Regions from separate parts of the Homo sapiens genome. Here region 1 is linked to region 2. Evidence: promoter capture Hi-C in 16 types of primary human blood cells and fetal thymus (Javierre and others, 2016). All regions are on one chromosome and are shown on one strand. The core of a region is centred on a gene start or on the middle of the fragment in contact, and the rest is flanking DNA. Distances in the headings are between cores, read along the strand shown.

Region 1 (4,630 bases), core at 1,581-4,080, 160 kb before region 2:
AATTGTCTGAGGTAGAGAGACATAAGGAGAGATGGCAAATGCTGCTTAAAGAGAGAATTGAATAACTGCAGAGCTCTTCTTTTGCTTCATGGAATACAAATGCCATTCATCTTTACATTTAATACATTCACTCATCAAACATTTATGGAATATCTACTATGTGGTAAAATTCTCTGCTGGGATTCACAGATGAATCAGACTTACTTTATACCTCACTGAAACTCATGACTTAGAAGAGACTGACCTGTAGGCACATAAATGAGTGGAACAGACTGGAATTGGCCTATTGATTAATGCATGCATGGGCCAGATGAGCAGAAGGACACAAAGAAGACCTGGCTTCCAGCAGGAAATGATGACTGAGCTGCTTCTAGAAAAGCTAGAAAGTAAATGTGCAACAGCCTAATGAGGACATTTCAGGCAGTGGCAAAGCATGAGGTGTGTGGCAGACTTGGTTATAGGGTTTGTGTAAGACTTGGGTGGTGTTGCATAAAAAGAGCTAGTAGTAGCAGCAGAGTCTAGAAAGGCATAAGGAGGCTGACATCACACTTAGAGAAGAGCTTAGTCTTATTATAGAAGATGAAAGGGGTCATTAAAATGATAACAGCTTTTTTGAATATAGCTTTGTACATGTATCCATGGCGGGATTATTTGCAACAGTAAACAGGTAGAAACAACTCAAATGTCCATCAGTTGATTAATGGATAAACAAAATGTGATGTGTGCATGCAACAAAACATGGTGTGTGCACTGTGGGTGAGTGTGCACATGCACACATACACATATGCACAGTGGAATATTTCTGTCACAAAAACATGGATGAAGAATGAAAACAGTAGGCTAAGTGAAAGAAGCTAAATTCAATGGCCACATATTGTATGATTTCATTTACATAAAAATCTAAAGTATACAAAGCAGATTGGTAGTTACCAGTGACTGAGAGAAGAAAGAACAATGAAGTCCTGTGTAATGAGTACATAGTTTACTTTAGGATGAGGATGTTCTTGAAGTAGGTATTGGTGATGATTACACAACATTGTGAATGTATTAAATGCCACCAAAGTTTACATTTTCAAATTGTTAAAATCATAAATGTTATATTATGGGTATTTTATCATAATGGAAAAAAATAAATACATTAACAGCTTAAAACTAGGGAACATAACAGGAATAGTGGTACCAAAGAACCACAAAATGACTGGCGAACAGTCACTTTGTTAGAAGCATCACACAGTTGCATATGCAGGATTCTGGGGGAGATGCCTGATTTGCAAAGCTGACCAGCAAAATGTTTCTAATGGGACCTCTCCCAGAACATGGAGTTCATTTTTATCCCCTTTGTATTATTTGCCCTTTATTATTACAGCCATGCAGATACCTCTTTGAATATGGGAGCTATGTCTATTATTTTGGCACTAAAGGTAATGCTAGAATCACAGTAGACATTTAAGAAAGTGACTTCATGATTGGGTTTTAGTGTTAATGTGACCTTAAAATCAGTATAGTGTAAACCCCTAAGAGGACAATTTCCTTACATGGGCCTTCCCCATTCTCTTAATAGGCTATTCTTCATTTTCCAATTAAATCGTGTTTACTTTCCTTTTCAAACTACTAAACAGTATACCTTTGTAGCTTGCATCATAGTTTGCTTTTTCTTCAGGGTGAATACTTTGAATAGTAATTTCTTTCATGTTGTCTGAATTCTATTCCAATTGTAAAAGAATTTATATAACCTGGGTGAACCATGCTAACCTAATGTTATCAACATATATCAATCTAGTGAGTTGATCAAATACATATTAACCTTGGATTTTAAAATCAGAAAATTAAGGCTCAAGGTAATTAAGTGGCATGGCATAAATAATAGAGGTCAGAGCCTGCACTAGGACTTGGGACTTCACTTTCGAATTGGCAATGAGAGGCACTCAGTCTAGACCTGACAGAGACTAATCCAGGGTCCTTCATTCCAGTAGGCTGAGGTCTGTCAGCCAGTTTTAAGCTTGACCTTGTAGAGTGACTTTAAACTTCACCTAATGCTTCTTCCTCATAATCCTCCTGCCTGTACTGCTAACGCTCTAAAGGGAAATTTAGGCCATCCTTTTCTACCTTCCTCAAAAGCCTTATTCTTAGTCTTCTCCTTTGAGTGATCTCAAGGTTTGGGGACAAGTATTCAGAGTATAAGAAAGTTTGGAACTCATTTTATGGCCTCACTGGATTTTAAGAAATATCTGTGACCTTGGATGTGATGCAGTGCCTTCGTGGTATCGGAATGTACAGCACTAATGATCTCACTGATTGCAGTGAATAATGCAATCCATGCATTACAGGAATCCATACATTACAAAAATAATGATCTCATGTGTTGCAATGAATTTTTTATCCCAAACACTTCTTATAGGACTGAGTTGCTATACCTACAATGAAATCCCTCTCACTTTGGACTTATTACATTTTAAATGACCTCATTATTTTTTTTTTGTTACTTTAAGTTCCGGGATACATGTGCAGAACATGCAGGTGTGTTACATAGGTATACGTGTGCCATGGTGGTTTGCTGCACCTATCAACCTGTCACCTAGGTTTTAAGCCCCACATACATTAGTTGCTGATGCTCTCCTTCCCCTTGATCCCTGCCCCTGAAAGGCCCTGGTGTGTGTGTTTTCCCCTCCCTGTTTCCATCTGTGTCCATGTTTTCTCATTCTTCAGCTCCCACTTGTGAGTGAGAACATGTGGTGTTTGCTTTTCTGTTACTGGGTTAGTCTGCTGAGGATGACAGCTTCCAGCTTCATCCATGTCCCTGCAAAGGACATGATCTTATTCCTTTTTATGGCTGTATAGTATTCCATGGTGTATATGTACCACATTTTCTTTATCCAGTCTATCATTTATGGACATTTGGGTTGGTTCCATGTCTTTGCTATTGTGAATTAGACATTTAGGAGATTACATTAAATAACTACTTAAGAGTTAATACAAATTACTTTTTAGACTATCCGAATGGCACATCTGTATTATCATTGGTACATGGTACTCAGTCATCTATACATTAACTTTGGTTTTAAATGTGATTAAATCAAATCAACCATTTAGTATATTTTTAATCATAGGTTCTGGCATTCATAAACCAGTCAAGATTTTAGTCCAGCTAGCCTCTGCATTTTATCTATATTCAATTCTCTGAATCTTACTGTTTGGTCCCACAATAGCAATAATTTTGCTTCTATTATTAGTTTTAATAGAGACAATTTAATGAGTATACACATATATATTTTGTGCAAACCACTGTTACATACATTATTTTATTAAATCCTTGAAGCAACACTTTGAGGTAGGTATTTTGCGTTTTTATAAATAATTTAATAGTATTCAGAAAAATTACCAAGTAAATAAATAAAAAAAACAGATTTGGAGCCTAGATTTTTCTAACTCCGGAGCCCATTTACTTAACCATTTTCCATATAAGTATTCTCATATTTCATATTCTAAGTAGGTATATTCCATAGTTTACATAAGTATATAATTATAGAATTAATCAACAACATTATAAAACACTATTTGAATGCTGACTGATGGAGTGCTGCTCCGGCCGCTCACCAATTCCCCTATTTTTAGTATTGTGTGTCTTTGGCTATGTCCTGTCCCAGGGGTCAGATAAAGCTTCTCTCCTGAACAGAGTTGTGAGAGTTGACACTTTTATTTTTTTCTGTGTACATGACTTGAATCTAGGTAGAGTTTAAGATCCCAGAGGATGAATCATAGCACCTCCCAAAGGCCAGGACTCCTCTGTGAAGCAGAGAGCAGGGGAAAACATAACTTCAGAGTAAAATGCCACCGCACAGGCCCATTCATCCTCTCCACCAAACTCTCCTGGGGGCCAGTGAACTCTCCAGATAGTGGCCAGGCTCTCAATGATCTGCAAACCTTTGAGTCTTATGAAGAACTCTTGTAGTCAGGCCTTGTATTCACCCCTGGGAGAAATCCTTTGGTCTGAAGTGTCTGCTTACTGGACTTCACAGCTGCTAATCCAGCTGCCATTGGTAGGATTCCTTCATTCTTGTCTTCCCTTAGTGACAGCACCCCACCTGGGCAGCCTACAAATCCACTCAGCGTTCTCCTCACAGCTTCTCTCTAATCCTTGTGGGAAAGTAATGATCAGCTTCAGATCTTATGTCTGTGCCTGTCATCTTCTGCAGAGAGATATGCTGAGGCCTGGCCTTCATCTTGAGTCTTCATAGCATTGCCCCATGTGATAGCTCCAACTATCTGTTCTACTTCCTCAGCTAGGGCCTCTGTATTCAGCCCACGTCTGTGATTAAGCAGCCCTAAATGTTGTTACCACAAACATATGCTTTTCTTTGATTTATACAGTTTTGATTCAATCTAACAAACAGTTCTAGGATCTTGGTCCCTGACCTTTTTCACCTTAACATATTGAAAGTCCACTTATGCAAGGACATAAATATTTGAATATTTACTTAAGGAAGAGTAGAGATTCCCTACCCCCAATTTAATGAATTCATTAAAATATTCTCATTAGTATAAAGGTAGTTTTCAAATGTTTTTTTCCTTATGCTTTTCTGCAGTATTTGTATCTAATTTTAGAAATGTTGTTTTTGTAATTTTAAGGTAA
Region 2 (4,436 bases), core at 996-3,495:
CACAGAGCCTGCTATAAGCTAGATTGGAAAAGTAGGGAGAAAAAGAAAAAAAAGTCAAAGAAGTCAAAGATTAAAATCTCCACAATGTTTGACTATATACTACCAAGATAGAAATGTCTATTCCCAAGAAAATAAATGCAATTATTTGCCAAGAAAGCAGAAAGCAAATTGGCAGACTTCAGGTAAAATGTGAACCACAGGCAAGCTTTGTTTAATTTTCACAGTGTTTTAAAACAATAGTAAACCAACTGAAAGTATTTTTAAAATTAGAGATAAAGTACCCTTAAAATGAAAAAGTAAACTGAATTTTCATTCTCTTAGCCAAAATTAGTTGGGTCTGAGGAGCCCTGCCCCTTCAGAGAGGACTACCCTTACCAGATAGGCACAGCCTCCCCTCTCCAATTCACCTCATTTGGTGTATTCCTGGGCCCATGGGCACATAAGCTGTAGCACCTTGCCCAGATTTTAAATATTTATCAAATTATGTCACATATATAAGCTAATACAAATATTTTACCAAAGATGTGATTCCCCCAATCTTCTGAGAATATTTTTCTTTAAAGAACTCTTAAAATATTTTGTATACATTTAATGAGTATATGTGTCTCTCCTACTATCATACAACTTCTAATAGGGTAGGAATTTTTGTCTGTTTTTGGTCATTACTACATCCCCAGCATCTATAATAATGTATGGCACATAGACTTGGGTCTCAGTAAATAACTATGCTGAATATTTATGTTGAATGAATTGATGAGATGAATAGGGGATTTTACATGGACATATATAATAATTGAGGTGCTTCCTTTATGCCAGGGGCTATTTTAATGACTTATATTTGTTCATTAAATACTTGCAATAAAACTGCAAGGTAGGAATTATCATCAAACCTATCTGGCAGATGGGAAGACTAAAGCTTGGTTAATTTCCTTTCCTAAGATCAGCAGTTAAAATATGGATCCAACCATTCTGGCTTCAGAGTCTGTGCCCTTAATCTTTGTAATACAGTGTTACTTAAAATGGTGCCATCTGAAGAAAAAGAGCCTTACGTAACAAAGCACTTTTATTCCAAATAGCAAAACTGCTTCATACACCATTTCTGCGTCTGGAGACTGCCTAGAGCTTAGGTAAAAAACAATGAAAGGAAGGTAAGAAGTCTTAGTCCATCTCACACCCATTAGGATGGCTATTATCAAAAGAACAGAAAAATAATATGTATTGGTGAGGACATGGAAAAACTGGAACGCTTCTGCTTTATATGTGGGAATGTAATACAGTGCAGCTGCTATGGAAAACAGCATACCGATTTCACAAAACAAAATGAAATAGAATTACTCTATGATTTGTCAGTTCCACTTCTGGGTATATATTCAAATAATTGACAGCAGAATCTCAAAAACATATTTGTATACCATGTTCATAGCAGTGTTATTTACAATAGCAAAAGGGAAGAAATTTGTGCTCAATGAAGAATGGGTAAACTAAAATGTGGTACATACATAGAATGGAGTATTATTCAACTTCAGAAAGAAAGGAAATTGTGACCCATGCCACAACATGAATAAACACCGAGGACATTACACTAAGTGAAATAAGTCAGGCATCAAAAAATGAATACTGTATAATTCTACTTACATGAGATACCTAGAGAAGTCAAATTCATAAAGACAGAAAGTACAATGTTAGTTGCCAGGGACTGATGGAAGGAAAGGATAGAGAGTTACTGTTTAAGGAGTATAGAGTTTCAATTTCCCAAAATGAAAACAACTACAGTTGGATGATATTGATGGCTACACAGCAATGTGAATGTACTTAATGCCACTGAACTGGATACTGTAAAATGGCTAAGATGGTAAATTTTATATTATGTGTATTTTACCACAATTTAAAAAAGGAACTCTTAGTACTTGATTTAGGTGGCACAACTACCCTATACTGTGATTTTACTTTCCATTTAAATCTCAGTGAATTAAAGATTGTTTACTGCATGTGTTTAGCTCTGTGTGTGCCTTCTCAATTCTCTCCTATTCTTGTTTCTCACCCACCAAGGAATGGTAAAGCAATTTTCTTATGGGCACAGTTCATGCTACAATCTGAGATTCAATTGTGTAAAAATACCTTGGGAAATGACAATAGTTAACAGCTTCTTGGGCAATAATTATAAATACACATGTGTAGGTGTAAGTATTGTTCATTGATCTGTGTACACGCCCTGCCTAAAAGGATAGAGCTACCTTGCCTGTCATTGCAAGTGTAACACACATTGCAAGTGCCAACGTGAGGAGCCATGGCTGGTGAGTCTTCCCCAGTAAGAGGATAGGTCTTAGGGAGGAATTAGTTTGGGAAAGGACTGCCTTTCTCATTAGGCTTTGTGAAGGTTTGTGTGGGCAGCCTTGGGGTGGAGAGAGAAAGAAGAAGGGAGAGGCAGGGTGGGAAGATGCCCAGACTTGCACAGCGTTTTTGAAGGAACAGATAAAGGCCAGGAAGAATCTGGGATCCTACTGGTATCTGCTATAATTTTGCTAGTGTTGTCCACATTTGAAGAGTTATGTAGTTCAGGATGAGAATGGGCACAGGATGGGTATCAGTAGCTGTTGTTCTCAAAGGAAACAGTCAATTCCCTTCAAAATTCATGAAACTGTCAATTCCCTTCAAAATTCAAGAAACTGGGATGTGTCAGAATAGAATGACTTCTGATTTTTAGGAGATTCACAGAAAAATCATGAAGTCAAGTTTCCCAGGTCACTCAGTGAGCATATGTAGGTAATGCTAGAATCAGAAGGAAGTACGTGGAGTAAATGCAAAGGTATAAGACCGTTCCTTGGGATTACTGTACTTGTGGAGAGAAATGTTTAAATGATTGTTACCCTGTTGGTAAATTGAGAGGGAAATTGTGTCATGTTCATTATTTGAGGAATCTTTGTGCTTCCAACAGACCAACTCTTGCGTAAAAAGAGAAGAATTTTTATCCATTCAGTGGGTGCAGGCACAATAAATGCCTTGCTGGATTGCCTATTAGAGGATGAAGTTATTAGCCAGGAAGACATGAACAAAGTGAGAGATGAAAATGACACTGTCATGGATAAGGCTCGAGTCTTGATTGACCTTGTTACTGGAAAAGGACCCAAGTCTTGCTGCAAATTTATCAAGCATCTCTGTGAAGAAGACCCTCAACTTGCCTCAAAGATGGGTTTGCACTAAGGTAAGGTGGAATGATTCAACCTAATGTCCAAATAGGCCCTGTATCTTGAATTCAGTTATGATTTTCTTCACTTGTCTTGTCAGTTGATAATAGGGTTCCTATCATTTTAGCCTCAGACTCCATTCCTTTATGCATGGCTCTAGCTTATGTCTCTTCTGTCTACGTTTTTGTGTCCCTTGTACCTGTTCTCTCAGTACTCCCTGCTGACCACAGCTCATCTCTAATTCTATGTAGGTGGTAGATCATTACTGTAGTTCATTTAAAGAGCCTAGATGTTTTATCCTGAATCTTTTAATGGTCCTGGGGAGCAATGTACAATATCACTCCCTCTTGAGCCTAAGAAGCCCATGTATTTATTAGAAGAGAAGGTATAAGCTCTTTTTGTACCTACCACCCTGCTCTTACCCCATCTCCCTATTAAGTACTTTTCAGAATATACAATGATGATGGAATTGTCAAAGAATAAATTGAGTGTGTATATAAAATTAAATATGCACTAAATAATTATATTTGCATGAAATTATATATGGATTCTCGTTGGAAGTCATCTCCTTTGCCTTTTCTTTTGTGTAATATGGTCTACTTGCATGGGGCTAGTCTACAGACCATTCTCTGTAGCCTATCCCTTTGTATTTCTAGGCCTCCTAAGAGCCCTGATGCAGGCTCTTGTATCTGAGCTGGCCCATTCCAATACCACTTTTCTCCCTCCACAGAGAGAAGATGGAACTCTGGAGCACTTCAGAGACTTCCCAGAGCTTCTTCCAAGGGAGAAGATATTCTCGTGAAAGAAAAAAACAAAACAAAACAACAGTGCTTTTTTCAAACCTGATTAATTTCATCAATTTCCAATAAATCTTTCATTCTCTCATATTACTTTCTTCTTATTCTTTCTCTCCTCATACCAACAGAGGATAATTCATCAATAATAATGAAGGTCATGATGATTGTAATGTAATTAAGAAAGTCCCTCCCTTTCCCTTCCTTTCTGTTTAGTTCCTTTGCAATCCTGTAGAGACATGTACAGCTTACTTTGGTGCTTTTAGCACTGAGAGTCTGCTGTGATGGGAATAAAATGAAGTCCCAGCTCAGAATTTTAAATAGCGTTGCTTCTTTGTAATGTTCTCATCTAGTTGTTCAGACCCAGGTCTATGACAATTACTCAACAAAATAAACACAACTTCCTTTCTGGGAAAATAATAGAGAAAAATCCATGGCAGATACTCCATTGCCAGAC

What was found. The method cuts DNA at HindIII sites, captures the fragments that hold promoters and counts their contacts. A CHiCAGO score of 5 or more calls a contact.
Region 1: a fragment that was not itself captured here is called in contact with the fragment with the promoter of CARD18 in region 2 in 1 of 17 cell types (neutrophils); the score reaches 6.7 in neutrophils.

The regions. Positions count from the first base shown.
Region 1 is chr11:105,297,982-105,302,611 of GRCh38, reverse strand. The region is part of intron 2 of LOC105369468 (a long non-coding RNA gene); the gene reads left to right. Among named protein-coding and RNA genes, the nearest start is that of CARD18, 160 kb to the right of the region's middle. RefSeq lists an enhancer at 4,473-4,630. The HindIII fragment of the contact is 1,658 bases long and covers 2,002-3,659 here.
Region 2 is chr11:105,137,578-105,142,013 of GRCh38, reverse strand. It overlaps CARD18 (caspase recruitment domain family member 18), which reads left to right and starts at 2,245. Exons shown (of 3, transcript NM_021571.4): 1 at 2,245-2,294; 2 at 2,936-3,202; 3 at 3,916-4,300. The coding sequence starts at 2,288. The coding sequence ends at 3,201. The HindIII fragment of the contact is 11,660 bases long and covers 919-4,436 here.